Linked DNA regions of Homo sapiens: region 1 is linked to region 2. The links are contacts of gene promoters, found by promoter capture Hi-C in blood cells and fetal thymus (Javierre and others, 2016). All regions are on one chromosome and are shown on one strand. The core of a region is centred on a gene start or on the middle of the fragment in contact, and the rest is flanking DNA. Distances in the headings are between cores, read along the strand shown.

Region 1 (3,290 bases), core at 685-3,184, 160 kb before region 2:
AATATATATTTATGCAATAAGTACAATAACACAAACAATATATGAATTGCAAAATAATAAATCTTTATTCACAGACATGGTCATGTACATAGAAAATTCTAAAGAACGTTCCAAAAAATTAAATTTATAGGCCAAGCACTGTGGTTCATGCCTGTAATCCCAGCACTTTTAGAGGTGAAGCCAGTAGGATCGCTTGAGTCTAGGAGTTTGAGATTAGCCTAGGCAATATAGCAAGACTCCACCTCTACAAAAAATAAGAAAATTAGCCAGGCATGGTGGTGCCTGCCTGCAGTCCCAGCTACTCCAGAGGCTGAGGTAAGAGGATGACTTGAGCCCAGGAGTTTGAGGCTGCAGTGAGCTATGATTGCACCACTGCCCTCTAGCCTGGGGGACGGAACAAGACTCTAACTTTAAAAATATATATAAATAAACTTATGAGGAATAATTTTTCTATAGAGTAATAAAAAATAAAATTTAAATGTAAAAAATCATTTACAATGCAATAAAAAATATGAAATGCATAGTGATAAATTTTTCAAAATATGTGCTAGACCTGTACAATGAAAACTACGAAACAGTGATGAAAATAATTAAAGACTTTTTAATTTTAATTTTATTTTTTATTTTTTGAGACGGAGTCTCGCTCTGTCGCCCAGGCTGGAGTGCAGTGGCACAATCTTGGCTCACTGCCACCTCTGCCTCCCGGGTTCAAGCGATTCTCTTGCCTCAGTATCCCAAGTAGCTGGGATTACAGGCATGTGCCACCACACCCTGCTAATTTTGTACTTTTAGTAGAGCCGGGGTTTCTCCATGTTGGCCAGGCTGATCACAAACTCCTGACCTCAGGTGATCCACTCTCCTCGGCTTCCCAAAGTGCTGGAATTACAGGCGTGAGCCACTGCACCATTTTAAGTGGAAAAATAAACCATGTCGAGTAAGGCTTGGCAGTCTTACTCATTTGTAACTTTAGTCATTATAAACTGATCTGTAAATTCAATATAATTCCAGTCAAAATCCTAGGAAACTTATATAGAAATTGACAAGCTGTTTCTAAAATTTATATGGAAATACAGGAGATGTAGAATAGCCAACACAATTTTGCAAAAGCAAAGGAAAAAAAAAAAACAGACAGAGGACTTACACTACATACTCTGAAGACTTCTTTAAAGGTACAATAATCAAAATCATGTGGACCGGGCATGAAGATAGGCATATGGAATGGGAACAATCAAGAGACTGGAAATATGTTTGCTCGTATATAGTTAGCTTATTGTTTTAAATGTGCTAATGCAATTCACATTTGTGAATACATTATATTCGTATATAGTTAGCTTATTGTTTTAAATGTGCCGGAACAATTAAATATCCGTGTTTAAAACATAAAATGCAATGTTTATAGTGTCTACATGTCCCAGCCATGGGCGGATGGGGTGGCAAATGGTCCTGGCCAAGTTTTCAGGGTCTTCCCTATCATTCTTCTGCGGAAAATTTAAGGAAAAATTATTTCTACTTGGGGGGGATGCTAAAATAATAGGATGTTAGTCTCATGATACTGGAAGCCAAATTTCTACCACATACAGTATCTTAAAAAGATACAGCTATAGATATATATATTATCCTGATTACATTGACTGATGCCCTGTCATTTGCCAACAAGATGGTTCTGACCAAACGGACACAGAATATTTTTATTGTCAGATGATCACACATACATGTGTGTATGTAGGGTATGGTGTAAAACATTTTTTCCCATCAAAACACCTGTCAGCTCTAGTTTCTCTCCATTTTCTTCTTCCTATGGTTGCCCTCACCCCCTATTTTGTTCTACAGCTCTGCCCTCCCCTTACTTGCCAAGGTTCTAGCCCAGTCCTAGAGGGTGATGTCAGATCCTTCAGAAACTGGTCTGAGATGAATGGAGAAGAAGAATGTAGGTCTTTCTAGTAAAATATCATAGTAAAACAAGAAAAAGCAACCTCACAGTCATTAATATTTGTTTTATAGCATAATTTCAATGTGTGTTACACTAACACTGTCTCTGTACTGTTCTCCATCAAATCAATTATCATCTCATGAAAGGGTTAGCATATTTAGAAAGAAGAGAGCATGAGGCTCTTGTCTGTAATCTCAGCACTTTGGGAGGCCGAGGCAGGAGTATCACTTGAGACTAAGAGTTCAAGACCTGCCTAGGCAACAAAATAATAATAATTAGCCATAGTGTTATGTGCCTGTGGTCCCAGTTACTCAGGAGGCTGAGGCAAGAAGATCCTTGAGCCCAGGAGTCCAAGACTGCAGCGAGCTCTGATAGTGTGCTGCACTCCAGCTTAGGTGACAGAGTGAGAACCTGTCTAAAAAAAAAAAAAAAAAAAGAAAGAAAAAAAGAAGGAAGGAAGGAGAAAAGAAAGAAAAGAAAAGAGCATGTGTTGGCAGATCAGAGAGTAAAATCCAACTCCAACCATTTCACTTTCTTATTTTTCCCTCAGTCCTGCTCATGAGGGTATGCAAATAAGAGTACACATGAATGTATGCAAATGAGAAAGAGTGGCAAAATTCACTTCTGAAGGGGGAGATCAGGAGAGTAACAGGAGGGTGCAGCCTTCTACCAGGAAGAGGAACATTTGTTTCTCAGACATAAGATGATGGAATAGAGAAAAGATAAAACATAAGATCTAGAAAGACATCATAGTCAAGTAGTAATGGCTAGGTGCACAGGCTCTGAAACCAAAATACCTAGATTTTAATGTGGAATACTCATCCTTCCTGGCTGTGACCTAGTGCAAGTTATCTAGATTCTATGTGTCTTATTTTTCTCATCTGTAAAATAATAATGATATGTTCCTCATAGGGTTGTGGTGCAAATTAAATAAATTAATATAAAGACCCTAGAAACATGCATGATACATAGTTGATGCTCAGCAAATGCTGCTAGCTAGTTATTATTACTTTAAGTTGTGGTAGAGGCAAGGCAAAATAATTCATATCTGGTGGTGGCCTTAATCTCAATAGCAGGAAATGCTGTTGTAGACCAAGGAAATTGGGGCTGAGTGCCTAGCTTGAATAGAGCGAGAGAAGTTTGAAACACCATCTGTGGACTACAGCACTGGTCCTTAACCCTAGACGTAACATTAAAATTACATGAGGACCTTTTAAAGATACTGACATTTAGGATCCCACCTAGAACAATTAAGTGAGAATGCCTGGAGTGGGCTTTAAAGTTGATCTTTAAGGGCAGCTGCGGTTGAGAATCAAGAAGTAATAGGAAACAAATAAATGAAAAGTTGTGAGTATAGAAA
Region 2 (2,903 bases), core at 129-2,628:
AGCGACTGACTCAAAAGGGTAGTCTGGAAACCTAATCTTAGCCCCTGGTCACCTCTAGCTAGTGTGCACAGACCTCAGATCTTGTCAGTCTCATTTCCCTACCTGTTAACGTGAGACAGTTGGGCAGAAGAACTTTAGCTTCCCTTAAATGCTACAACTCAGCGTCTCTATTAATCATACCGTTTATTCATCAAAATGAATACTGATAAAAATGACAAGTAGAACACACCCTAGATGTTCAGGCCTCTGGAATTGGTGGCAGCGTTCCAGCTTCCTTTCTGCCTGTAACTGTGAGTAAGTCCTGCTTTACCTCCTTCCCACCCCCCGCACCCACCAACAGCTCTCTATCATAAGCTAATCAGCTTGAAATAATTGTTAGGGCACTTCTGTGTATGGCCTGTGCATGTGCCAGTGTGTACACCGTGCAAGCTGAGCTGTTGAGGTTCTGGATGTGCATACAGCCCTGGCACCGGAAGGTTTGCCTCTAGCATTTTGTGGACTAACTCTGGCAGTACACAATGGGAAGAAAACCTCTTTCCAAGTGTGAGCCCTTCTCTCTTCTCATTCCCAAGGAGGTGTGTCCAGATCCCTTTGCCAGACAGCTACTTTACAGGAGCATTGGAGAGCAGGCAGCTAACTTTCCCCAACAAGCAGCTGGATTTACGTTGGCAAATCAATCCCTCTCAATAAAATGTTATGTGACCATCTTCCCAGCCCCCCGTTAAAATCCCTTCATTTTTTCGAGCAAGCGAACTAGTCAGAGAAGACAGAAAAGTTAAGTAAAGAAAGTGGCAGAAAAGTGAAGCAAAGCAACAGCCCGGGAGCGTGGCGGGGGGACCCGCGCGGGGACTCGGGTAGGCTGCAAACGCTGGGGAGATGCCACAGGAGCGCCTGCCTTCCCAGCTTCTCCTTTCTCTCGCCGAGGGTCTCTGGGGTTCAGCGCTCCCGGCGTTTCGGCGACCTCCGGGTCCGCCCTGTCCCCTCCCAGCTGGGGAGCTGAGCCCGGCTCTGCGCCCATCGCCGACCCCGGCCACTCTCCCTTCGCTGCTCGCTCCAAAAGCGCCTGTCCCGCCCCGCGGGGCGACTTCTCCCTTTCGGCCCTGGGGTTGAAGATCCTGTGTGGGGCAGCTGCGCCTTCGGGACAGCCCCAGCCGCGGAGCGCCCAGACCAGGGCAGCCGGAGTCGGGTCATACGCCGCACGCCGCCGGGGCCGCCGCACCTGAGCCCAGCTCCAGTCACGCCGGAAGCGCGGGCGGAGCGCACGGGTCCGGGGAGAGTCGCCTGCGCCCGCGAGGGGGACCCAAGTACCTAGGGTGGTGGCCGAGTCCCGCCTCCCGCCAGCGGGGGCGAGGACCTGCGACGCGCACCCCTGCCTGGCCCGGTCTCCTCAGCACCAGCCCCACGCACACCCTACTTCCTCAGCTTCTCGCCCTCACCCTGCCAACTTCCCTGCGAGGAGGGACCTGCCGCCAGCCTGCTTCCTCGTCCGCAGGCCCTGCGCTGAACGCTGCCGCGCCCAGGGTTCACCTTGCGCCGTCGGGAAAGCCCATGAACTCTCCAGAAACGGCGTAAAGGAGGGTCCCGCCGCGGCGCAGGGCTGGGGCGCCTGGGTTCCCCCTGGGTGGAGCAGCGGCAGCAGAGCGGGAAAGTGGTGGAGGATGATCTTGCGGCCAAAGGGGACCTCGGCGCAGTAATGTCAACATGTAAGTCTCACCTTTCAGCTTGGAATTCCTTCACTCTTTTATCTGTGTCCACCTTCTGTCGCCCCCTCCCCGACCACCCCACCCTCAAGAGAAATGATTTTATAAGGACTTCAACTGCACGGAGGGAATAAACCGGTTTGTCTTCAGTTTGCCCCTCGAGGCACTGAGGAGTAGGACTATTGCCAAGTGGAGTTGTGACATGTGTGTGTGGCTGTTTTTTTTCCCCCAGCGAGGTAAACCTCACATTTGGGCGGTGTAAAGCCTAATAAGAAGGGCAGGGCTTCAAGAATGGGGAAAACGTGTTTTCAATTCAAATTAAACAAGGAGTAACAGGCACCGCTCCTCAGTCCAGAGGCCTGGCCCTGCCAAGAAGGCGCTCTCCGGAATCAACACCTGGGGGCTTGGAAGGTACTAGTATGCCGAGAAAATGTTGACTTTACACATTGTCACCATTGACTGTAGAAGTTATTCTTGGATCTTTGGGGTGTTTGAATTTTTTTAAGGTGTGCAGAAAATGTTTTCAGTGTGCTTTGTAGTTTAGGAAGTAATTAAGGGTTACGCCACGTTACGTGATAGGATTTGAGGGGACTTCCATAGACTTATGGGGGGCGTGGGGAATTGGGGCATTGAAACAGAGAAACCTAAAAGGTTTTGCCTCCATAGAATTGTCATCCTAATGGTGAGGTGGCGCACAGCGACCCCATGAAAGGGTCGCCAAGCACCGTCTGGCTTTCCAGAATGGGAAAAGGAAGATTGTACTCCAAAGGGCCAAGCTTATTTTTGTGGCCAACTAAGAAGTTTCTTTTTCTTGTAATAGGTAATTTTCCTTCTGATGTTTTAGTTAATCTTGGACGGACACCGTGACAGACATTTTATCCCCTTCCACTAACTCATGTACAACAATTTCTAGAACTTGGTACTTAACACTCCTTCCCCCAACTCCTGGATCTTACATGAATTTACTCTTTCAGTTCAGTACATGGGGAAAGACCTGCCCCCTAGGTCCTGTTTTTCCACACTTTCCTGCACTTTCCATTCCCTACTTCCCCACTCCCCAACACACATTTTAAAATAGGAGAAAGAAAGGATAGTGCCCACAAGCCTAGCACTCTGTAACTCTGTTCCAGGTACTGTGAGATGTAATCAGAAATGAACCACTTATTTTTACTGAAACTGCATGTGAAATAATTCCACACCTGG

Evidence for each region. The method cuts DNA at HindIII sites, captures the fragments that hold promoters and counts their contacts. A CHiCAGO score of 5 or more calls a contact.
Region 1: a fragment that was not itself captured here is called in contact with the fragment with the promoter of ADGRG6 in region 2 in 1 of 17 cell types (monocytes); the score reaches 5.1 in monocytes.

The regions. Positions count from the first base shown.
Region 1 is chr6:142,142,674-142,145,963 of GRCh38, forward strand. The region is part of intron 1 of NMBR (neuromedin B receptor); the gene reads right to left. Among named protein-coding and RNA genes, the nearest start is that of NMBR, 2.8 kb to the right of the region's middle. The HindIII fragment of the contact is 4,167 bases long and covers 1-3,290 here.
Region 2 is chr6:142,300,629-142,303,531 of GRCh38, forward strand. ADGRG6 (adhesion G protein-coupled receptor G6) reads left to right here and starts at 1,379. Exons shown (of 25, transcript NM_198569.3): 1 at 1,379-1,703. The coding sequence starts at 1,702. RefSeq lists a silencer at 1,169-1,308. The HindIII fragment of the contact is 4,341 bases long and covers 1-2,474 here.